7 separate regions of the Homo sapiens genome follow, and regions 1, 2, 3, 4, 5 and 7 are each linked to region 6. Evidence: promoter capture Hi-C in 16 types of primary human blood cells and fetal thymus (Javierre and others, 2016). All regions are on one chromosome and are shown on one strand. The core of a region is centred on a gene start or on the middle of the fragment in contact, and the rest is flanking DNA. Distances in the headings are between cores, read along the strand shown. Region 1 overlaps SLC18A1 (solute carrier family 18 member A1). Region 2 overlaps LOC105379311 (a long non-coding RNA gene). Region 3 overlaps LOC105379312 (a long non-coding RNA gene). Region 4 overlaps INTS10 (integrator complex subunit 10). Region 5 has its middle 60 kb from the start of LPL. Region 6 holds the start of SH2D4A (SH2 domain containing 4A). Region 7 overlaps SLC18A1 (solute carrier family 18 member A1).

The links. Contacts are between HindIII fragments. The CHiCAGO score rates a contact against its expected background, and 5 or more counts as called.
Region 1: a fragment that was not itself captured here is called in contact with the fragment with the promoter of SH2D4A in region 6 in 5 of 17 cell types (naive B cells, naive CD8 T cells, non-activated CD4 T cells and 2 more); the score reaches 5.8 in naive B cells.
Region 2: a contact is called between a fragment that was not itself captured here and the fragment with the promoter of SH2D4A in region 6, in 4 of 17 cell types (total CD4 T cells, naive CD8 T cells, non-activated CD4 T cells and 1 more). The highest score is 7.5, in total CD4 T cells.
Region 3: a contact is called between a fragment that was not itself captured here and the fragment with the promoter of SH2D4A in region 6, in 2 of 17 cell types (naive CD8 T cells and activated CD4 T cells). The highest score is 6.7, in naive CD8 T cells.
Region 4: a fragment that was not itself captured here is called in contact with the fragment with the promoter of SH2D4A in region 6 in 3 of 17 cell types (non-activated CD4 T cells, activated CD4 T cells and naive CD4 T cells); the score reaches 6.0 in non-activated CD4 T cells.
Region 5: a fragment that was not itself captured here is called in contact with the fragment with the promoter of SH2D4A in region 6 in 4 of 17 cell types (non-activated CD4 T cells, activated CD4 T cells, naive CD4 T cells and 1 more); the score reaches 6.8 in non-activated CD4 T cells.
Region 7: a fragment that was not itself captured here is called in contact with the fragment with the promoter of SH2D4A in region 6 in 5 of 17 cell types (naive CD4 T cells, activated CD4 T cells, total B cells and 2 more); the score reaches 5.9 in naive CD4 T cells.

Annotation. Positions count from the first base shown.
Region 1 is chr8:20,145,888-20,149,288 of GRCh38, forward strand. It overlaps SLC18A1 (solute carrier family 18 member A1), which reads right to left. Exons shown (of 16, transcript NM_003053.4): 13 at 2,120-2,183; 14 at 1,716-1,835; 15 at 1,371-1,504. Among named protein-coding and RNA genes, the nearest start is that of SLC18A1, 36 kb to the right of the region's middle. The HindIII fragment of the contact is 1,351 bases long and covers 1,372-2,722 here.
Region 2 is chr8:20,103,503-20,106,568 of GRCh38, forward strand. The region is part of intron 1 of LOC105379311 (a long non-coding RNA gene); the gene reads left to right. Among named protein-coding and RNA genes, the nearest start is that of SLC18A1, 78 kb to the right of the region's middle. RefSeq lists an enhancer at 524-1,025. The HindIII fragment of the contact is 2,877 bases long and covers 130-3,006 here.
Region 3 is chr8:20,127,034-20,130,390 of GRCh38, forward strand. It overlaps LOC105379312 (a long non-coding RNA gene), which reads left to right. Exons shown (of 3, transcript XR_949563.2): 1 at 1-81; 2 at 1,169-2,886. Among named protein-coding and RNA genes, the nearest start is that of SLC18A1, 54 kb to the right of the region's middle. The HindIII fragment of the contact is 848 bases long and covers 1,452-2,299 here.
Region 4 is chr8:19,845,076-19,848,468 of GRCh38, forward strand. It overlaps INTS10 (integrator complex subunit 10), which reads left to right. Exons shown (of 17, transcript NM_018142.4): 16 at 629-722. Among named protein-coding and RNA genes, the nearest start is that of INTS10, 29 kb to the left of the region's middle. The HindIII fragment of the contact is 2,306 bases long and covers 122-2,427 here.
Region 5 is chr8:19,877,330-19,880,301 of GRCh38, forward strand. No RefSeq gene overlaps it. Among named protein-coding and RNA genes, the nearest start is that of LPL, 60 kb to the right of the region's middle. The HindIII fragment of the contact is 3,506 bases long and covers 1-2,972 here.
Region 6 is chr8:19,312,036-19,314,967 of GRCh38, forward strand. SH2D4A (SH2 domain containing 4A) reads left to right here and starts at 1,658. Exons shown (of 10, transcript NM_022071.4): 1 at 1,658-1,788. The HindIII fragment of the contact is 8,347 bases long and covers 1-2,932 here.
Region 7 is chr8:20,172,871-20,176,004 of GRCh38, forward strand. It overlaps SLC18A1 (solute carrier family 18 member A1), which reads right to left. Exons shown (of 16, transcript NM_003053.4): 5 at 1,491-1,574; 6 at 166-258. Among named protein-coding and RNA genes, the nearest start is that of SLC18A1, 8.7 kb to the right of the region's middle. The HindIII fragment of the contact is 4,634 bases long and covers 1-3,134 here.

The sequences.
Region 1 (3,401 bases), core at 797-3,296, 830 kb after region 6:
GGCAAGAAGAGAAGCCACTGCACATTATTATCATTTTTTTTTTTTTGAGACGGAGTCTCGCTCTGTTGCCCAGGCTGGAGTGCAGTGGCGCAATCTCGGCTCACTGCAAGCTCCGCCTCCCGGGTTCATGCCGTTCTCCTGCCTCAGCCTCCAGAGTAGCTGGAACTACAGGCGCCCATCACCACGCCAGGCTAATTTTTTGTATTTTTAGCAGAGACGGGGTTTCACCATGTTAGCCAGAATGGTCTCGATCTCCTGACCTCGTGATGCGCCCGCCTCAGCCTCCTAAAGTGCTGGGATTACAGGCGTGAGCCACCGCGCCCGGCCAACCACCGCACATCTTTTTTTTACCAATCTCCTCATTCCGTCCTCCCACTAGTTCTTCCAAGGCTGGCATTGCTAAGTACTCAAGAAACATGCATAGGACCCTCTGCATGTACATGCACCAGCCTCCCGGGGTACCTAGTATATCAACCCTTGTCAGGACAAGTATCTCATTTGCTTTTAACTGAATTTAACAGTGGTAGTGAAAGTTACAGCAGGAAGCCAAATGGAATCACCACCACTCCCTATCACACCTTCATGTCTTCTTTTGTTCCCTTGAGCAGCCTCTGTCGGTATCCCAAACCCATCAGGCCCTCAGGATGTTTGTGCTGCAGTAAGAGGAAAGTGCTTTATTAAAGAAAATCCTATGGTATGGATCTCTTCCCTGGGGTTTTTGTACTTTTAAAAACGTGACCTGCTGACCAACATGGATAAACCCCATCTCTACTAAAAATACAAAAAATTAGCCAGACATGGTGGTACATGCCTGTAATCCCAGCTACTTGGGATGCCAAGGCAGGAGAATCTCTTGAACCCGGGAGGCAGAGGTTGTGGTGAGCCGAGATCACACTATTACACTCCACCCTGGGCAACAAGAGTGAAACTCCATCAAAAAAAAAAAAAAAAAGTGACCTGGTAAGGATAATGTTGCACTAGAGTGAATGAGTGGATGAACGGATGTGCCAATGGAATTCTGCCCACTTATGAGGGAGTTAACTTGGTAACTCACATCTTGCTAGTAACTAGCAAGCTAAGAACAGTAACTACAGGATGTCTTTGATGGTCCTCTGCCCCCATTTCCCTTCTCTACTGAAGACCCTTCCTGATAGCCCCAGAAAGAGGGAAGTGGTTACTTAGAGAAGGGAAATTAAGGAAGTGCACAAAAGAAATATGAAGATGAAAGGGGATTGGGAAACATGGCAAAGCAGAGAGAGTATCAACAGAGCAATAGAGGGAGGAAATAACAGCCCAGGATGAAAGGGAATGAGAGAGATGATGGAAAGAAACAGAAGTGAATTTCTCTTTTAACAGTCGGTGCTCCTTACAAGCTTCTCTTCCTTTGCCGGGGGGCTCCGCAGGTAGTAGCAGAGTGGAGCATAGACGATGTTGATGACCCCAGTGATGACCATGAGCCAGGGAAAACCGATGGCCTTTACAATGGCACCACCGGTGGATGGACCTGGGAGGGATACATCAAAGTCATAAGTGTCTATGGAGCCTCCATATGGAGCATCCTCCACGTAGGACACTATGCTAGGGGCAGTGGGTGACCCAGAGGATGTCTCAGCGTCAAAGATCTCCAGAACCCTAGGAGGATAGCTTCCTGGCTGCACTTCCAGCTGGTAAAGAGTAGACAGGGGAAAGTGGGGCACCAGGTCCTGCCAACATACCTATAGCAAAGCCCATGCAAAAAGCCACATCAGCGATGGCGTAGACACTCCCATACACCGAGGTGTGGCGTAGATCCACCAGGTGCCCCATGATGGGCATCATAGAAGAATCCACCATGCCTGTGGCCAGAGCAAACAGGACACAGTCAGCCCCACCCACAGTTAGTACCACCCCGCCTCTCCTCCTCCATTTAGTCCATTTGCTTTGTCTGCTGTCTTCTGCCTCGGACTAACACCTGTTCCAGGTGGGAATTACGAGCTCATCTCTCCACAACCCTGCCAGCTGCCCTCCTGATCCTTCTGCCTCTGCACCTACCTCCTCTGATGAGAAAAGGGGGAGGAAAGGCATCAGACCCAAAGCCAACATGCAGGGGCTTATTGTTTTCTTTGAGGGCACTTCTTACCTATGGCAAGGCCAAGCCCTGCATTGGGGCCAATGAGACCAAAAATATTGTGAGCCAGAGGAACCTGCATGGGGAAGGAGGAAGAGTCATCAGGACTCCAGATGGGTCAGGTGGGAGCAAGGTTCAAAGAGTTTTCACATGAAATGCATTTATTCAGAGTGCACTATTGGCCACATACATCATCCTCCTGCACTCTCAGACTTTCTCATGGAAAAGAATCTATACCTCCATTTTAAGGATATGAAAACTTGACCAGCGCTGTTGTGTTTATTTATTGCTCTATCCAGAGTTACAGATCTAATGAGTGGCAAGATCAAGTTTGGACCTCAGACTTGGCTCCATTATGCTCTAACGAGGGTCTTCCTCTGTTCCATGGATACTTTCTCCCCTTCCTCTACCCCTCTTCACCTAAACATACACTCCTGGTCTCATTCTTCATGGAATAAAGTTGCCTCTGTTTTCCATTATGGACATCACTGAAAGGTTTCATTTAGACTTCTAACTTGGTAGCTGTTGGAAAAAGAAGATAGAGAAGAGGCCCCAACAACCAGTTAGCTGTAAGCTAGAGGGGGCAGGTGGTGTGGCTTGGGTCCCCTGTCAGGAAGCTTGTGAGACTCATTCCCATTGCCCTCCCAATCCCCCAACAAAAACCCCTTCTTCCCTCTTTTTCAGGTTCCTTACCTCCCTCTCTGGGTACCTGCCATTCAAACCTGCTACCCCAGGACACTCACCCCTTAAGGGTTTAGCATACCGTTTAGATGCTGCTGGCTGATAACAATTTTTAGGGTTCATGCCTCAAGAAATGTTTATAAATTATCAATAGTATTGGCTGAGATTCACTATGGGCTCACCATGTGCCAGACACTGTGGTTTATTTGGATTACCTTGACAACCCTGTGGACACCATCAGAACCCTCTCTACATAGATGAGGATGCTGAGCACACGGAGATGAAGTAACCTGCTCAAAGTCACATGCATAGAAAGTGGCAAAACCTGCCATGGAACCCGGATCCCATGCTCCTGCTCAGGACCTCCAGCTGGTCTTGAGCACAGTTTACAGTGCCTTGTAGCCCTGTTCTTCTCTCCCTCAGGCCTAGGAGGTTTGTGTGTTTCTCATCCCCACTGGGGAGAGGAGGAAATGAAGGCTTTGAGAACTTGAGGGGGATTCTTGGAAATGGAAAAGTCCTTCTTTCTTTCTTCTTCTATCAAGCCTCTGGTGCCAGAGACTGGGACATAGATGATGGTTCCCTGGGGATTTATGAGGCTCTGTCAGGGTGGGAT
Region 2 (3,066 bases), core at 318-2,817, 790 kb after region 6:
AATTCTTCCTTAGCGGTTTATACACTTCCTGTTTATTCACATGCAAACAAACACATAGGAAAACCTCAGTCCCTCCATTCAGAACATGTTCTGAGGAATTCAGCCTGCAAAGCTTTCTTCAAAAATGAAAGCTTCTTTGTGTAAATGCTCAGAATTCATAAGCAACTAAATGAGGGACAGCGGGAACGAGGGAGGGTGGGAACAGGAGAGAAACCACATGGGGCTGACTTTAGAGTAGCCATAATTCAAGAGAACATGGGCGGCTTTTCTGCTCTTGAGAGAAATAAACAGCATTTCTTCCCAAGGAGTCACATCCCTGAAAGCATTCTATCTCCCCACTCCTCAAAGTGATCATGGCTCCTGGGCCTCTAACGCAACACTCGGCTTCATGTATGCAAATGGTAGGCACTCAATAAACAAAGTGAGTGACTACATAGTAAAGGAAAAATAAATGCATCACTATTTTGTTATAGAGAAAGTAACTTAACAATGAGTTGATTACAACTAACATTTACTTTTGCACTTAATATGGGCAAACCCACTGAGCATATTCTCTCATTGACGCCTCCCAAGAGTGAGAAATGAGTCAATAAATGTTGTTTTGATTAACTCATATTGTTAAATTACTTTAAAATTGTCAGTGAAATAGGTGTCATTATACATATTGAAGCTGTGACTCCTGTTATTCATGACAATTTCCACCCTCTGTCTTATTTGATCCCGGCCTTGAAAGATAAGTATATAAGATCCCATTTTGTAGCCATGAGAGTTGAGGCTCAGAGAATGAGACCTGTCTGAGGCCATATGTCCCCATGCTGGGCCTAGAGCCCAATGTTCCCTGTAAAATGCCATGATCTGTGTCAGTTATCAATTTATTGCCTCTCTGCTCCAAATTCACCCTTCATTGTTCTGGGTCAACGGAGCTGGCCCTGTATTTCCCCTTTGCTAGCTGGCACAATGTGGACCCTTGTTAGCAGAAGATGTTGGAAGAACACTGCCACCAGAAGGGGTTTCTCTCCTCCAGGTTCCAGAGCACTCTCCCCTCTGGACTCTTGCCATACACAGTCTATTCAGTATCTGAGCCCAGCAGTCAGTGACCACATCTGCACCCAGCTCCTGCAGGACCTCAGCACCTCCTCAGGAATCTTTGCAGTGAGTCCTGAGACCTATCACCTACCTGTGGACAGTTCTCCCTGGCACCTCAGAAGGAAGATTAACAGCAAGTTCTGCCACCATGGCACCTCTGCAACTTGGTGGCTGAGCACTGAGCCATGGCTGGGCTCTCAAAGAGGTCTGGGTCTCAGCCTTAGGGATAGCAACTGCTCTCTATAGCTGCAAATCCTACATTATTTGGGATTTTCTCCCCTCCTTACTGACCAATTCCCCACTACTTCAATACCTTTTTCCAATGAATAATTCTTTATAGTGAACTCTCCACATTCAAATATCTGTATGGTTTTTATCTCCTGGCTGGTCCCTGACTGATACATGTTGCTTCCTTTCTGAGCATCTTATTGCAGGGATTGAGGCCTGAAAATTACCTGGCATCCCACAAACACGAACAAGAGATTCAAGAAGCTGGGACCTGAGGAAAAATTGCTTTTATCTTATCTTCTTGGTTTCTCATCTGGGTTTCATGGGATGCAGGAGGAAGGGATCAACCACAAAGCACTTTTTGGAAGTGGCACCTATGAAATACACACGTCTTGTTTAATGATCTAAAAACATTTCAGTCGTTTTAAATTTTCATACTTATGTTTCAACTATAACCCTAGGTACAGTAGCCAGCATCCACTTCTCCATCCCATTGGATTGATTGATTTTAATCAGTCTTAAAAGCTCAGTGTAATTCCTCCCCCAGGAATGAGTACACTCAATTATCAGCTCTCATGACAGTAAGGCCACCTCCCATGCACACAGCAGTTCATGTGTGTTAAGTCATTCAACCATCAAAGCTCTGGGACATCCAGAGCAAGTTTTACTGTCCTCCCCTTTAGGCAAGCAAACCTGACCCTGGGAGAGTTAAATGAGTCTCACAAAGGCAAGTGATAAACAGCCAAAGTGTGTGCTAAGACTAAAATCCAAGTCCTCTAAATTCATTATTCTTTTAGCCATGGCCTCCTCCCCCACATCTCTCTGTTTCCTGGACAAAGGCTTTATCTTCTGCTAAAGAATTTCAAAGATCAGCAAACAGGAGTGTGTGGGAGGTTATTTTGGGGGCGACGGTGGGCAGTGTTCAGGGCTCTTCTGGCACCCTCATCTCTGCTGAGTAGGCGCCATCTGATGCACTGAACTGGCTTCAAGCCAGCCCCAGACAAAAAGGCAGGAACCGAAGGTAGGCGAGGGCTGATGTGGGGAGGGAGGGACAGTGGAAACGGTGTTGCACAATTAGACGGGGACTCATGAGGCTGGCATTTCCCTAGTGGGGAGCCAAGGCTGCACAGAGGGAGAAGGGGGTGGGGTGGGGTGAACAGTGGCTCTGTCCATACTGTTTGGACACTAGCAAGGCTGTATGAGAAAAGTCACAATTCATTAAGATTTGGGTGGGGACACAGTCAAACCAAATCTGGGTCAAGCCGAGTCTGTACATGAGGGAAAGTAAGTACAGATGTGAACATTTCCAAGTGGAATATGTGTGTAACCAGAGCACCCCTAGGCCTCAAGAGCTTATTACAACCAGGATGGCAACCATGGAGATGACAAAACAGTGGCTAGAATTTATTAGGCACGTACTGTGGGCCAAGGACTGCTCTAAGCATTTTATATTCACCATTCTACTTAACCTCAAAATAGCCACATAAAGGAGATGTGAATGAAAAATGCTATATTTAACTTAGTACCCAAAAATAATAGATACTAGCTTCTCCCTTTGGTAACTCTTCATTTTCCCATACCTCACTGAAGACCTTCTCACCTTCTTCCACCCAACTCCCAGTTATTTCTGGAACCCTGGAAATCTCATGAGTATGTATGTGTGAGGTTTTTAAATTTTTTTTAACTTTTTCAAGCTTTTCATTTTGAAATAATTTCAGACTTCCATAAAAATTGCAAAAATGTCACAAAGAA
Region 3 (3,357 bases), core at 626-3,125, 820 kb after region 6:
GACTGTGGAGAGGACGGGGCGCCCGCTGGCTGTGTCACCACAGCACACCCCGGGCTTCCAGGAACAGGAAGGGAGCTAAAGGTGATGAAGTATAGGGGCCCTTAGGGCCTCGAAACTACAAGCTATTCCTCAAAGACCAAGCCTCACATGCCTCTGGGTCCAGAGGTGCAAAGGCGGGGCTGTGGGTGAAGGGTTTCAAAGGCAGCCCTCTCTGGCTCACCTCAAAAATCCTACCTGGGCAGACACCTCTGGGTATTATACAGTTTAGGGCATCCATCATTCATTCTCAGTGGAAAGTCCTGCAGATGCTAGAAATCAATAGGGTTTTTATTTATTTTTAAATTTAAATTTTTTTGAGGTGGATTTTTGCTCTTGTCGCCCAGGCTGGAGTGCAACGGTACGATCTCGGCTCAATGCAACCTCTGCCTCCCAGGTTCAAGCGATTCTCCTGCCTCAGCCCCCCAAGTAGCTGGGAGTACCGGTGCCTGCCACCATGCCTGGCTAATTTTTGAGTATTTTTAGTAGAGACGGAGTTTCACCATGTCGGTCAGGCTGGTCTTGAACTTCTGACCTCGGGTGATCCACCTGCCTCAGCCTCCCAAAGTGTTGGGATTTCAGGTGTGAGCTACCGCACCCGGCCAAAAGAGTTTATTGACTGGGGCAGGACGATGGAAGTAAGAATGCAGGTCAGAGTCAAATAACAGCCTTACCTCTTTTACTTAGATATCCAGATGTTCTTTTTAGCAAATTAAATTTTCTAATTTGCTTTTACTCAGTACATTGATATGCTTAGTATAAATGCACTAACTGTGCTACTTTTAAACGCATCCAACACACATCATTTTAAAGTGTTTTATGAGAAATTCTGAACCTCCAGTAGACAACGACCCTTCTCCTACAAACTACAGTTATTCCAAGGGCATTTCACTCTGTCTTCCACATGCAAGAGCTTGTAGCAGGAAAAAAATAAAATGAGAAAGAGAGAGAAAGAAAAGAGAAAAGAGAGAGAAGGAAGGGAGGGAGGGAGGAAGGGAGAGGAGGGGAGGGGAGGAGAGGGGAGGGAGGAAGGGAGGGAAAAGAGGGATGGAGGGAGGGAGAGAGGGAGGGAGGGAAGGAAGGGAGGAAGTAAAATATGTATGTATATACTTTTATTTATGTCTATGTCTAGATGGGTCAGCACAAATATTGAATTCACACTATATGCTGTGGCCTGCAACAGATACTGAGGATGCCAGCATGGATATGAGACCCAGTAATTAGCCTGGAAGAGCAGAGAATGTACTGAGGGATGATTTGTAACAATACAACTGCTATGTTATGTTCTCCTGCTATAACAGAGGCAAGAGCTCAGTGTTCTGGGGATGCAGGCGAGGAATTGTGTGGCCTGGATAAATCTAGGAAGACTTCATGGAAGATGACGCATTTAAGCTAGATCTTGAAGAAAGATAGCAAGCTTTCTGTCTAGTGTAAGGGAAACTCATTTCAGTCTGCAGAAACAGTGTAAGCTGGGGTGTGGAGGATGAGAGATGAGGGCAGCTGGTCCAGGCAGACAACAGAACCAGTGAGAGCAGCGGTTGCTGCTACTGTATCACCCCCCTTGGCAGTAGTATGGCCCTGACTGCTGAGAGGCAGGCCAGCTCAGGGGCGTCTCGACTCCCCAAACCAGTGCTGAACATTCCCTGATCAACCTGGCTACCAAACCTTCTTCTGAAAATGAGAAGTAGCTTGTTAACTATCAGAGCTTTCTCACATAAGAATGGGCTTCAGGAGAGGTAGTGAGGTCCCTGTGGGAGGAGGTATGTAAGTAAAAGTGATAGGATAGGCCCTTTTTTCCAGGCTGTGGTAGAAGGGAGGTTTGGGACCAAAGAAGGTTGGCCTAACATACCCCGCTCAGTTTTCTTCCAGAGCTAAGAGGCCATGATTCCCTTTGAAAGTAGAATTTCCTGTTCTTCTATGAGGAATGGAAAAACATGTCTAGAGAGGTTAAGTGACTTGCCCCAGGCTACAAAGAAAGCTATCCGAATCATTGTCCAAACATTTCACTTGCTACAATCTGATCTCAAGTGGACTTTTAGACAGGTGAGAACAGATGCTGGCTCTTCTATCTCGGCAACCTCTTTACCAATTCTGCAAGCATCAGACAGCAGCTGGATCATACATACATATGCCTCACGTACGCAGCTTCAGCTCTGCCAAGCAGGGCCATGCCCAAATGTGAGCATAATATGTTTATGTGGACCTTGAGCAAGACACTGTGAGTTGAGTCCTGACTTCACAACTGCAAGCAGGAGGTCACAGAAGCTTTGCAGATAAAATGTTAATCTCATACCTTGGCCCATATCAACACATGCTAATCAGATGGGTCAGGCTGTGCCGTTTCCCTCTGCAAGCGGGACTTGTTGTGACTAATTGAGGGGTTTGTAGTGAACATGTCCCTTTACCTCCTGCAGTCCTGGCATCCTAAAGCAAACCTTGGATCTATCAACACCAGTGATACCGAGAAGCCGATATTCTCTTCACTCTGTTCTCCTTCCCAGCAGCCATCACGCCTCTGGGCTACAATCCTGCCTCCAGAAGTCCCAGCTCAATTCACAAAGATGTTCTGGGAAGGAAGTCAATCTTCCCAAAGTTCTTGAGAGCCTGGGACATGCCATTTGCGCAGAACTCTAGAGTATGCAACGTGGCTTCACACACATCACTCCATTCGGACCCAGGGCTCTGGTACAGGTGTCATCCAAACCTTCTACTGCACACACGTAGCAAAGCGAGGCCCAGGGGTGATGCCCTCTTGAAGTCACAGAGAGAATAAGTGGAGCAGCAAGAAATCGCAGCTCAGTTTTCTGACCCTGAAGCCTGGGTTCTCTTCTGCATATACCAGATGGCCTGGTGAGCAAGGGTTGGGTATTCCTTGGCAAGGGGTGAGCAGGGCTGGGATCCAGGGTGAGTTGAAGTGGGCTGAGGACTTTCCAGGACTCATAGCTCCAGCCGGAATGTGAACAGGCCACACGCACCGAAATCAGTCTTTAGAGCTCGCTGTGGCCACAAGTGGGTGCTGGGCTGAGGTGGTGGCTTGTGGTTGTGAGTGTTGAAGATCATAGTTCAACGCAGGCCGGGTCCCATACAGGCAGGAGGACCAGGCACTAACTGGCCTGCTCTGCCGTCGATCTGGTACCTGTGTGTCTGCCTGACAGACACAGCTCAGAGGCCACCAGGGCTGAGCCGTGGCCCCAGGGCCACCCTCTGTGAGGCTGTCAGGAAGACAGAAAGAGCCACAGGGCAGCTACAGGGACAATGAGTGGCTTGCTGGTGAGGGACAGTAGGAGGCTGAAACCAAGGGAATGGACAAGAGCTTACAAC
Region 4 (3,393 bases), core at 25-2,524, 530 kb after region 6:
TTAACCATGGTTTGGGACAGATATCTTTTGAGAATCTAATGAAAGTTACATAATTTTTCACTAGAAAAATGCATACATGAATGTCATCGACATATTGCATAAAATTTGGGTGACTCACAGAAGCTTCCTCCTCTGATGCATCTATAAACCCTTGCACCCCAGTTATGAAGAAGTAATCACTTGATTTTTATGAATTTTATGTTCTGTAACACCAAAGAATCCTCCCTACTTTCACCTCCTCTTTCATTTCTTATTAAGAAAACAAAAAAATTTTGCTCTTGTGACCATGTAGTATTAATTATTATCGATATGGAAAACATGTTGTCCTCATGCTCTTTAGCCTGGCACATCTCATGCCAAGAGTTATCTGTGCGAGGGAGTTTAGTGGGTATAAGAATCAGGTTTTGGCATCAGACAGATCTGGGTTCAAATATGGAGTCTGCAGTTAGTGGGGTAGCAATGGGCAAGTTACTCAACTGCCAAGACCCCATTTCCTTATCAGAGAGAACTGGCACCTTTTTTAGTGGGATGGCAATGGGCAAGTTACTCAACTGCCGAGACCCCATTTCCTCATCAGAGAAAACTAGCACCTTTTTTTACATGTGGTTAACCTGAATCTGGCCTGCAGATATTGATATGCTGGAGGAATTTGCCTACTTGAGAACTCAGGAAGGTGGGAAAATTCATCTGGAATTACTACCCAATCAAGGAATGCTGATCAAGTAAGCATGTTCTCTTTTGCTCTTCCATGCTGAGTGCTCACCTTTTGTGTCTTTGTATGAAGTATTTGTAAATGTCTATACCTATCAAAAATTTAATACAAAGGACTTTAAACCTGGTCTCTGTTATGATAGTTTGATTCTGGGTACCTTTTGAAAAACTTGCATTTCCTTAACTACATTTCTTAAAACACTTTGCTTAAATTGGGGTATTTTTGTCACATTTGCAACTTTTTCACTAGACAAAAGTCTCATTCATGATATCTTTTACTTTCAAAAATTTATAGGGTGAGTCTATAAGTTTCTGATTAGTCACAGAGTGCCTTTAATTAAGAACAGTTGTGTGGCCAGGCATGGTGGCTCACGCCTGTAATCTCAACACTTTGGGAGGCCAAGGAGGACAGATCACCTAAGGCCAGGAATTCAGGACCAGCCTGGCCAACATGGTGAAACCCCGTCTCTACTAAAAATACAAAAAAAAAAAAAAAATTATGTGGGCATGATAGTGGGCACCTGTAATCCCAGCTACTTGGGAGGCTGAGGCAGGAGAACCGCTTGAACCCAGGAGGTGGAGGTTGCAGTGAGCCGAGGTCGCGCCATTACACTCCAGCCTGGGCAACAAGAGTGAAACTCCATCTCAAAAAAAAAAACAAACAAACAAAACAGCTGTGCTTAATTAAAATTGTGCTGGGTTAGAAAAATTCTTTAGGAAAAACTACAGACTTTTTATTTATAAACTACCTATGAAGCCCTCCTATGCAGTCCTCATGACTTACATAACAACGAAGTATTAATAGCCAGGTATAGTGCCTCTAAGAACACACCTGTCCCAAGAAATGATGGTGGGAGTGGTTGGTCTCCACCATGCTCCCCTGAACTCACAAGATGTTACTAAAATTCCGGGTTGGCCCAGATGAAAATGCCAAATTAGTGACCATTTATGATTTTTAAATAGCTCATAAATCTTGCTTCTCTCCTTCAATCCTCATTGTAGTTTGGGTAATATATCCTCTCTGCTGTAAATGCCACGTGTAGTTTTATTTTCATACTTCCTCCTTTGCTTCCTGCACATTCAGTGTGTCTGTAAGTCAGTGTTAGAGTTTCTGCAAGAGACTGAATCCTGAATGAGAAGAAAGTACTGCTAAAACTAAAAACATTTTTCTTTTTCCCTCAGTTGTGGAATAAACTAGTTTTCAGTGGTTGAAAGCAAAAATCCACATCTTGTTCTATCTTGATAGTCTTAGAAGTGCCTAGGGAAAGAAGTAAGAAATGTTCATTTTAGATTTCTGTAACCTCAGTAGTTTGCTGGTAGCAAACATTTCTTTTTGTGTCTAGCAAGAATAGGGTCTTGTGGACTCCATTCTCAAGAATGGAAAGATTAAGTGGTTTTTTCTCCTTCATCTTATAAGTGTTATTAAATTATAAACTTTTAAAATAAAAGAACAGTGCTCTTTTTAAAAATACACGAGACCTTTCTGCATTGGTTTGCTTAAGCAGGATGGACAAGGACTGGCATCTTCCAATCCCCATTTACTTTTCTAAGATCGTGAATCGAAACTTTGGGAAGAATAACTATGTTGTTCAAAATATTCTTAACAGTGTTTGGGGATAAAGATTACCTTTGGATACGGAAGCCCAGGTAACCCCTTTTGTATTGTGATTTGTTTTCTAGACTTTGAAACTGGATATACAAATACACCCTGAATCAAGCTTTTTAGTTAATTCCCATCAGCAGTCACTATACGAGTTAATATAGAGACAGCCATAGTGGAACCGAAGTCTGTGTACATAGGATTAAACCTGCAGATGATTATCACTTTACCTAGATAATGCCTAACTGTTAGTGCAGGTGTGAGAGATGGATTGTCAAAAAATCAACAGTTGAACCTCAGACTTCATTGTACTGAACCTTTCTTCTTCTACCAGTTTTTACTGAGCTGAAGAGTGACATAAGTCCAAGTGGACAAACCCTAGGATGAGGAATGAGAGCAAGGGGAGTGTTGGGTACCAGCTAGTATCACAGGGAAGAGTGTTTGGAGTTGTTTGTGTAAAGGATACCCATCATGCACTTCTAACTAGTGAGGGAGAACTCCAGGGTCTCCCACCTTGATCAATACAACCCTTAATTTCTTCTAACTTTCTATAGAAGACAAGCCTCTTAGGAAGGCTGCAGTTTCATCAGTTTGGAAGCAGGAATAGGGATTATTCCTTAGTGATCTGACCTCGTAGGGATTTGCCCAGTCTTCACTGTGTGAATCTCAAGGTTAATTACTTATGCCTAAATTAACATGGTAGAAAGCACACTGCTTAAGCCAGAGAGCTCTTCCTAACTGAGGAATGGTTGGAATCTTTATTAAACAATCTGAATTCCTTTTCCCTTTGGGTTCCAAACAAGTTTTCTGAAGCCATTACAGACCTTTTGGGTGGTCCCTCCAGATGAGTGGCAGAGATGTTGTGAGCAGTGTACACTTCTCCCCGGGGGTAAGGCTGTGAGTCTGCCCTAGCTGTGGCATCTGGGATGCAAGCAGGTACAGTACCAACACTGAGGGCACCCGGTGCTTCACTCAAAGGAGGGAGAAGCTCTTAATCTGTTATACAGACCTTTTGCTCTTAAGTATTTTAAAATAGAGAAATGTTTCTGTGCTGATAAATGCAGTATCTTAGTTGTATTAGA
Region 5 (2,972 bases), core at 456-2,955, 570 kb after region 6:
CTTCTCTTTTGGTCTTCTAATTTTATAGTACGTCTCACTTCATATTTTATATTCTTCCTTTTTTCAATATTGACTGCATTTATCTCACTTACTCTTCCCAAGAAGCCTGAGGGATTTTATTACCCTGATTTTATAGACAGAAACTGGGTCTCAGCCAGTTTCAAAATATTTCTCAAGGTCACATAGCCAGTCATGGCAGACACTGGATGACAATCCAGTTCTGTCTGATGCCAGATGCCTATTCCTTCCACTTTGCTGGCTTCTAAAATTGAGAAAATTAAGTACGTAACCTGAGAAGAGGCAGGTTTGCATGGCCCTACATAGAAATACACATTAAGTGGTTCAGTTAGAGAAAATAATGGCATGCAATGCACACTGGCTTTATAGGAAATATAGGGCATAGCACTGATCACATACCATAATCCTGATTTTTCTCTAAGACCTCCTTCTTCTAGAAAATTCAACGAATCTCAGAGAACATAAACACAGCCCTGTAAGAGTTTCTATGGTTCCACTTAAGCAAAACTGTTCATTAAACATCAAGCTCTTGTTTTTAGAATAAAAATACTCAAGAGTAAATATTTCCCCAAAGGGATCACTTTCTAGACAATTTTACAGGCTATTCTTTGTGAAGGAAATTTAGAAAGCATAAACCACACAAAAGCCAAAGTAAAATCTTTGGAATTTCATTCACTTCAACTAATAGCCTGAGAGCTTAGTTAGCAGGACACTTAATTTTGAAAAAGAACTTCTCTAAAACAGAAAGTAGATTGCATTGAAAAATGGGTAGTTGCTTTCAAAGTTGTTTCTGCTTAGTAAACTTTTATTTTCTAGAGGAGACTTATTATCCTATCAAGAATCAAAGTTAATTTTGACAAGACTAGGATTTTCTCTGAACTCCAACTAAATCAAAGGAAGAAAGAATGAAAGGAAGGGAGGGGAGAAGGAGGGATGAAACAAAGAAAGGAAGGTAGGCTGGGCGCTGTGGCTTATGCCTGTAATCCCAGCACTCTGGGAGGCCCAGGCGGGTGGATCACGAGGTCAGGAGATCGAGACCATCCTGGCTAACACAGTGAAACCCCATCTCTACTAAAAATACAAAAAATTAGCCAGGTGTGGTGGCTGGCTCCTGTAGTCCAAGCTACTTGGGAGGCTGAGGCAGGAGAATGGCGTGAACCTGGGTGGTGGAGCTTACAGTGAGCCAAGATCGGGCCACCGCACTCCAGCCCGGGTGACAGAGTGAGACTCCATCTCAAAAAAAAAGGAAGAAAGAAAGGTAGGAAGAAGAAAAGAAGGAAAGAAGAAAGAAAAAGAGGTAAAGAGAGATGGAAGGAGGGAAGGACAATTGAAGAGGAGATTCTTGTTTATTAATAAAGCACAATAACGGATGACTTACTTTAAAATTTGTGATGGCTTTAATATGTCATCATTACAGTTAACCCTAGAGCCACACTGGTTTGAACCATGTGGTTCCACCTATAGGTGAATTTTCTTCCACTTTTGCCACACCTGAGACAGCAAGATCAACCCCTCCTCTTCCTCCTCCTCCTCAGCCTACTCCAGTGATGGTGAAGGCCTTTATGATGATCCACTTTCACTTAACAAATAGTGAATACTTTTTCTCTTCCTTAAGATTTTCTTAATAACGTTTTCTTTTCTCTAGCTCACTTACTGGAAGAATACAGTATATAATACGTGTAACATACAGAACATGTTATTGGTAAGGCTTCTGGTCAACAGTAGGCTGTTAGTATTTAAGTTTTGGGGGAGTCAAAAGTTATACATGGATTTTTGACTAGGTGGGGGATTGGTACCCCTAACCTGCATGTTGTTCAAGGGCCAACTGTGTTTTTGTTTTGGAAGTAGGTGTCTACACACACAAGTAAATGATAGAAATGTGAAGTGCTTTCAAATGCCAAATATTCTGAGAGAAGAGAACGCCTAGATTCATTACCCTCATTTGTCTTCACAGTGAAGGAGAATGTGAACGCTATATTTACAGTGTTGGCACCATTTGAGCTTCGACTGTAAGTTTCGTGGTGAATATTCTAGGGCCTCAAGGCTCAGGATCTGGAATGCTCACATGAAGAGCAGAGCAGGAACCAACACAGGGAGCACACGGCTTTGCCTCTAATTCTTCTGCTAAGCAGACACTTCTTGAGTATCATCTTTTCTTCTCTGGGGTTCCTGGCACTGAGGCAAATGCATTGCAGTTCGCTCTTTAGTGAAAATGTCCTGCTGCCTTCAAGGTTCTTCCCTGTTTCTCATCTCAGCTCTGCAGCTTCTCTCCTCCACCCCTACCCTTGCCAACATGCCAAAGATGCTTCTGTCTTTCCCAAATAAGCATCTTTTACATGTATTTGCCAAGAGGATAAAGACAGGTATTAAATTTCTCAGTAGTTGCGATGACCTGAATGTTTGTGTCCCCATAGAATTTAAATGCTGAAATGCTAACCCCCTCAAGGTATGATATTAGGAGGTGGGGCCTTTGAAAGGTGCTTAGGTCATGAGGGTGTAGCCCTCATGAATGGGATCAGCACCGTTATAAAAGGAACCCCCAGAGAGCTCACTCATCCTCTTTCTGCCACATGAGAATACAGAGAGAAGCTGGTCACCTACAAGCCATGAAGCGGACCCTCATCAGACACCGAATCTGCTGGCATCTTGATCTTGATCTTAGACTCCAGAACTGTGATAAATAGATGCTTGTTGTGTAAGCCATCAAGTTATGCTATTGGGTTACAGCAGCCAATACTAAGACAGGAATGTTCAGTTGAAAAGAACCTCACCATAAGAGAGCCATTCATAACGAGGAAGAGACATTGCCAATGGGAAGTTAGGAGTAAATGGAGGCTGTGGGAAGGTGTCAGGAGATTCAACAGAGTCCATTTTTTAATGGTTCCAGACTTGTAATATCAACTGGAAGAAAGTTTGGGGTCAGGATCTTTCAATATCCTTGATTCCAATCATTA
Region 6 (2,932 bases), core at 408-2,907:
AATCTCTGAAGTGGCAGACCATCATCACTTCTGCCGGGTTCTATTGGTCAAGCATACCAACCTTTACAAAGTGGCAGGGAGCTATGCAAGGATGTGAATACCAGGAGGATAGGATCCCTGGGAATGACTTGGAAGGTAGGTGGCATGGTGGGCAGAACCCACAGCCTAGGGTGAGATGGCAGGAATGTGGAATTCCAGTACCTTAATGTGATATGAACTGATCTGAGTGAATGTGTTTGAACACTCACCACATGCCAAGAGCTCTTCTAATCTCTTTGCATGTAGCATCTCATTTAACCCTCTTGACAACTTACCGAGGCAGACACTCTTTATCTAGAGGAGGAAAGTGAGGTACAGAGGTTAGTAGCACAGTGATAAAGCTGTTATAAGGAAGGACTTGCCAGGACCTGGAGAGAGACTGGGTGTGAGGAAGGTAGGCTGTCACAGTGTCCTGTGGGATTTTTCCTAACTGATAAACCACCCTGTATGGTTCAACTGATGCATCCATGCAGGGCTAGGATTCATTCTGACCTCGTCATAGCAGCTTTCCAGGGGCCAATCCCACTCCAGCCTAAAGCACCCCATATGCTATCATTTAAACTGCAGTAGGAACTAAGCCTTACACCAGAAATTCCTCCCTGATGGGATTCCTGGAATTGTTCCTAAATAGCTGGGTCTTATTTCCTGACAATGCCGCCTGCCCCGAGGCTTGATGTAACTCTGCACAGCTTCTGCAGTTTGGAGAGGCAGGGAAATGCCATTTTGTGTTTGAATCCAGCAGGTCAGGCTCCTAAAGAGGTCAGGTAGTCCGTGGAGAGGACTACTGGTGTTTACTGTTTATTACATCTCTCCCAATACACAAAATCTGGGGTTCACCAAAGCAGGCGGTTTTCTTCCACATGCTCCTCTAGGATGGAAAATGCCCTCCAGTGGAAATGCCTTTCCACTGTGCTTCTGCTCAATTTTCCTCCAAGATTTCCTCTAACTGTGGACTGCCAGCTCCTCCCTGACGTCTTCAGGCACCAAGCCAACCTGTTCTTGTTGCAATCCTCAAGACTCCTTTCAGCATCTTAACTTTTCCCCCAGTTTTCTTTCATTTTCTCCACCTGTCTGTGTTGACTGCGGTCTCCTTCCTTCCAGCCTTTTCCTTCCTTCATCTTGTCCTACAAAGCCACACGTGTACCGACAAGTGCCAAAGAGTTTGATCATTTACTTAATGTCAACAAAAGAAAAAAAAAAAAAGCTCCAGAGTCGCCTTGGCCTGCAGCACCCAAGCAGAGTGAACAAGTGGGGCCTGCGCACCCTCCTACCCTACACCTAGCAAGGAACCCCGAGCTCTGAAACGTGGAAAGGCCCAGATCTGCAGATTTAATCTAAGTCCTGCAGTCCCCAAGAGATCACAGACTGCAGATCCCTGTCTCATGAACTAAGAGAGGAGAGGACAAGCCTACCCCGGACTACCGCAGCTCGGGGACAGCGCGCGGGCCAGGCGGCCCGAGATGCGCAGGCCACGCAGCCTCGCCGACGAGTGGCCCTGGAGAGCCTCCAGGCGCCCGGGTGGGGCCGCGATTGCGCCCCGCCAGTCACCCCGGCATGTGGGCGCGGCGGGGCGGCGCGGGCGGGACGGCTACAAGAGCTGTTTTGCGTCCGGGCCGGAGTATTTGCTCAGCCCGCCTGCGCCGCTTGGGACGCCTCTGCCTTTCCCTCCCTCCCTTCCCCGACGGCTTCTGGCGGCCAAGTGGATGTGGCGGGTGATCGAGCCACCCTGCCCAGGGGCGCCCAGCACTGGTAGGTGCTGGGGGTGGGGCGAGGCTTTGGGGAGAGTGTGCGTGGGGTGGGAGTAGGGGGAAGGGAATTTCCTCGGAGGTTGCATGGGTGCATGGGAGGCGCAGGGGCCAGAGCGGGCGGGCGGAAGCCTCACCCCCGCCTCCACCCCTTCGCGGCGCCCGGGGCGGGCTCAGGTGCGGGGTTGGGCGGCGAGAGCGGCCGCGGCGGGTGTCCGGTGTCCGGTGTCCGGTGTCCGGTGTCTGGAGCCGCTGGCTAGGTGAGCGGCGGTCCCCGGGGCCTGGGGGCTTGCAGGGGGTGGCGGGGGAACTTCGAGGGAGAGGGTCTGCCGGGGCTGAGGACCTTCGGGGAAGTTCTGGAATCCGGCAGGGACACGCGGCGCGTGCTTCCACCCGCGGGGAGTGCAGGCCCCGGGAGGGTCCGGGCTGGCCTAGAGTTTCTAGACTCCTAGCAGGAGCACGTCCTCGACTTGCGCATGGAAATCTTCCAGGAGGGAAGTCCCGGGAAACGGTGGCAGCTGGCGCAGCACCCCCGCAGCACGTTCCCCGCGCACCGGCACCCAGGGGCGCCCCCACGTGGGGTCTGGGAGCGCGCGGAGGCCAGTGCAGCGCCGCCTCCCTCGGGCTGCAGCGGCGGGGCTGGCCCAGACCCAGACCGGGTGCCCAGTGCGCTCAGCCAAGCGGCGCCCCTGCCCGCTCCTGGACTCGGGGGTCACGCGGGCACCGGAAGGAGCTACAGTTTGTAGGTTTTCTGAGTTGTCTCTCCCTTCCCAGGGAGCTTAGAGAAGCAGCAAGCGTGGCACCTCCCCCTTTCAAACAGATGCTCCTCATCGCTCCAAAGGCTTTCGTTTGATTGCTGGTTTAATAGAAACAACGACTTGGGTACGATTATTTTAAAATAGTGAATAAATAAGTGGAAAGCATACAGGGGCATAGATTTGGCATATGAGTGGAATTCTCTATGTATACTAAATCTGTGTGTACAGTAATCTCAAATTTCTGAAGAATAGTATATATTTACAAACTGCTGTCATCTCTGGTAATTTGTTTCATCCTCAAAAACAGCCCTTTTGCTGGTAGATGAATAAGATAAAGTTTCAATAAGAAAACAAAGTTGGACCACAGAGCTGGCTGTTTTAAAAGAATTA
Region 7 (3,134 bases), core at 402-2,901, 860 kb after region 6:
CTTAAGGAGAAGGAAATTTAACCTTTTCTCAGTGATATTTCTAAAGGAGTTGAAATAGGATGAGGCCAACAAGGGAAGGAAAATACTCGTCTTCTACACCTCGGGAACACCTGCTTCCTAGAGTCCCACCCTCCCGAACCCAGAGCTCCAGCTGGTGCCACTTACCCAGCAACCCCAAGGCCAGGCCCCCCAGAGCAGTTCCCATGGCTCGTCCTCTCTCATGGTCATCAGTGTAGACACTGGCCAGCATTCCAAGACCTGCGCAGAGAGTTACAGATGCAGCTGGCCCCCTGGGGGGCTTCTATCCGCCTCTCAGAGCCCTTGGTCCCACCCTGTTATCTCTTCAGTGACAATCTTAGCTAGAGTTTCAGTTTGAGGGGTTTTACAAAACTTAACCCGTAGTATTTTTCAAGTACTACCCTCCCTAGTCCCCCAAGCCCCCACATTGTCCACTCCTGTTCAGAATATTGTTGATAGTGCAAGCCCTCTGGAAGGATAACACAGAAAATCCATTGTCTGATTATACCATGTTTCATAACATTTTATCATTTCCTAGCACATTTCCCAAAATGAGGGGTTACAGAGCAGATCAGGGAAAGGAAAATCTAGGCACACAGAGACCATTCTATTTAACAGGGGTGCCCAGGGAAGAGCAGGAAAGCACTGCAGACCTGGAAGAAAGTGTGGGCTAGTGCTGTACGGCAGCTGGACCCTCTGGCCTTCATAGCTATGGGTAAAATGGCATAAAATGCCAACTTCATAAGATTGCATTAGATATTATATTCACCAGTACTTTGAAAACTGTGCTGGTGTTACCAGTAGTACTAACATGATTATTCCTATAAAGTACTAAGAGGGGGACAGAAAAAGGACCATAGAGTGGCACTAAATGAAAGCCTGCCCTTCTTCATAGCTTCACTGGAGGCTTGCTCTGACCTGAGCTAGCTGCATCTGAATATTAGCAGAGGAAGTTATGTCAGGCTCAGAGATCTATGGACCCTGTTAGAAACTCTGTAATTCCTTTCTTTTTTTTTTTTTTTTTTTGAGTTAGGGTCTAGCTCTGTCACCCAGGCTGAAGTGCAGAGGCACAATCATGGCTCACTGCAGCCTTGACCACCCAAGCTCAAGCCATCCTCCCACTTTAGCCTCCCAAGTAGCTGGGACCACAGGTGCACACCACCATGCCTGGCTAACTTATTCTCTCTTTTTTTTAATAGAAATAGGGCTCTCACTATGTTGCCCAGGCTGCCCGGGTTGGTCTCAGACTCCTAGAATCAAGCTATCCTCCTGCCTTGGCTTCCCAAAGTGCAGGGGTTACAGGTGTGAGCCACTGTGCCCAGCCCAATTCCCTTATTTCTGAATCACAATTTCTACCTATCCAGGTGACATTTTCCTTAATTTCTCCATGTAAATATAGGATCTGAGGTAGTAAGAGATGTGTGTGTGTGCATGCCTGCATGTGTGTGTGCATGATGAGTTGCCAGTGTTACCTGCAACAGATGAAAATGAAGATCCAATGCCTTGAAGGGTTCGGGCCACAAAGAGTAGAGTATAGGTCCCAGAAAAAGCAAACACTGGGCAGAGAGAATAGCAAGATAACTGCAGTTAGCAAATTGCCTTTGCTTCCCCAGCCGCCAGAGAACATGCCCGTGATACTGCAGATATGAGTCTTGATGCATATGTTTTTAATAAAGCATGATGACTGTTCCCTGTTTTTTGAGTTGTCTTTTCAATCTCCCACTCCTCAGTTTTGCTATTTAAATGGCAAGAAAACTGAGAAACCACAGAAGTATAAACCGAGTCACCACACAGCAGATGGAAGGCTGAGTCTGTACATCTCTTGCCAAGAACCCAACATTCTGTCCACTGAAATGAGGGATGTCCATGAAGCTCAGTGTCCTAGGCTGGAAACTGGTTCTTAGATCATACTCCTGGATCGTCCATGTGCAAAATCCAGATCTGGTCTTTACCATTGCTGGGTCCCACAGGATCATCTGGAGTACAGTGACAGTAAGTAGGTGCTTCGAGGATTATAGGAATTGGGTAGAAAATAATATCTTGTGATACAATCAGATCCTTTTTTATATCTTATATTGAACGATCTTTTAACCAGACAAAATCAGCAGGTATTAAATTATACTGAATGCGCAGCTCTGCTAGACTCTGTAGCAAATGCAAAATAAAAATAACATCTAGTTATTGTCCGTGAAGAGAGGCAGTGTGTTGAAGATGGACACCCAGGAAACTGAGATCCAACAGGAATATGTCATCCAAAACAATAAGAGAAATATGGCTCTGTCCTGCCAGGCTCCCAGACAGTCAGACCTAATGGTTATCTCCCCTTGCTCCCTGAACATCTCCATTATCCTATTCTTTTTTCAAGGTTCTGAGATCTCATATTGTTCAAACACACACGCTTTATGAACAATTTGTGCAGTTAACGCAATCCTCACAGGGTCCTGAGTCGACATACATCCTCAGTTTACGAAGACCATGGGATTAAGAGATTAAAGTAAAGACAGGCATAGGAAATTATAAGAGTATTGATAATTGGGGAAGTGATAAATGTCCATGAAATCTTCACAATTTTATGTTCAGAGATTGCAGTAAAGACAAGTGTGAGAAATTATAAAAGTATTAATTTGGGGAACTAATAAATGTCCATGAAATCTTCATGATTTATGTTCTTCTGTCATGGCTTCAGCAGGTCCTTCCATTCAGGGTCCCTGACTTCCCGCAACACAAAACTAAATCAGAGGGTGCTGGTGGTCAGGGTAGTTAAGTCCAGACATGTCTCACCTCCAATTCCAGAAAAATGTCTCCTAGGGTAAGAATAATCTCCTCGAAGTGTCTGAATCAGAAGAATTGTAATCCCTTTGCCCATTCATTACAGATGTCTTTGGTTGTGTTTTTAATCTTCTCCCATTACTTCCCGGCAGACATGATCACACCGAACTTCTCCTTGTCTCCCAAAGATGCACATTCTTGGTCTCTTCTTTCCTGGCCACCAGCATCTTTTCTCAGACTTTGTTATTTCCAGTCTTTTCTGTCTACTCTCCCAATGTCCTTTGAGAATAGAGTGACCCACTCATCTTGGTCTGCCCAGAACTTCCTTGTTTTTAAAACTGAAACTC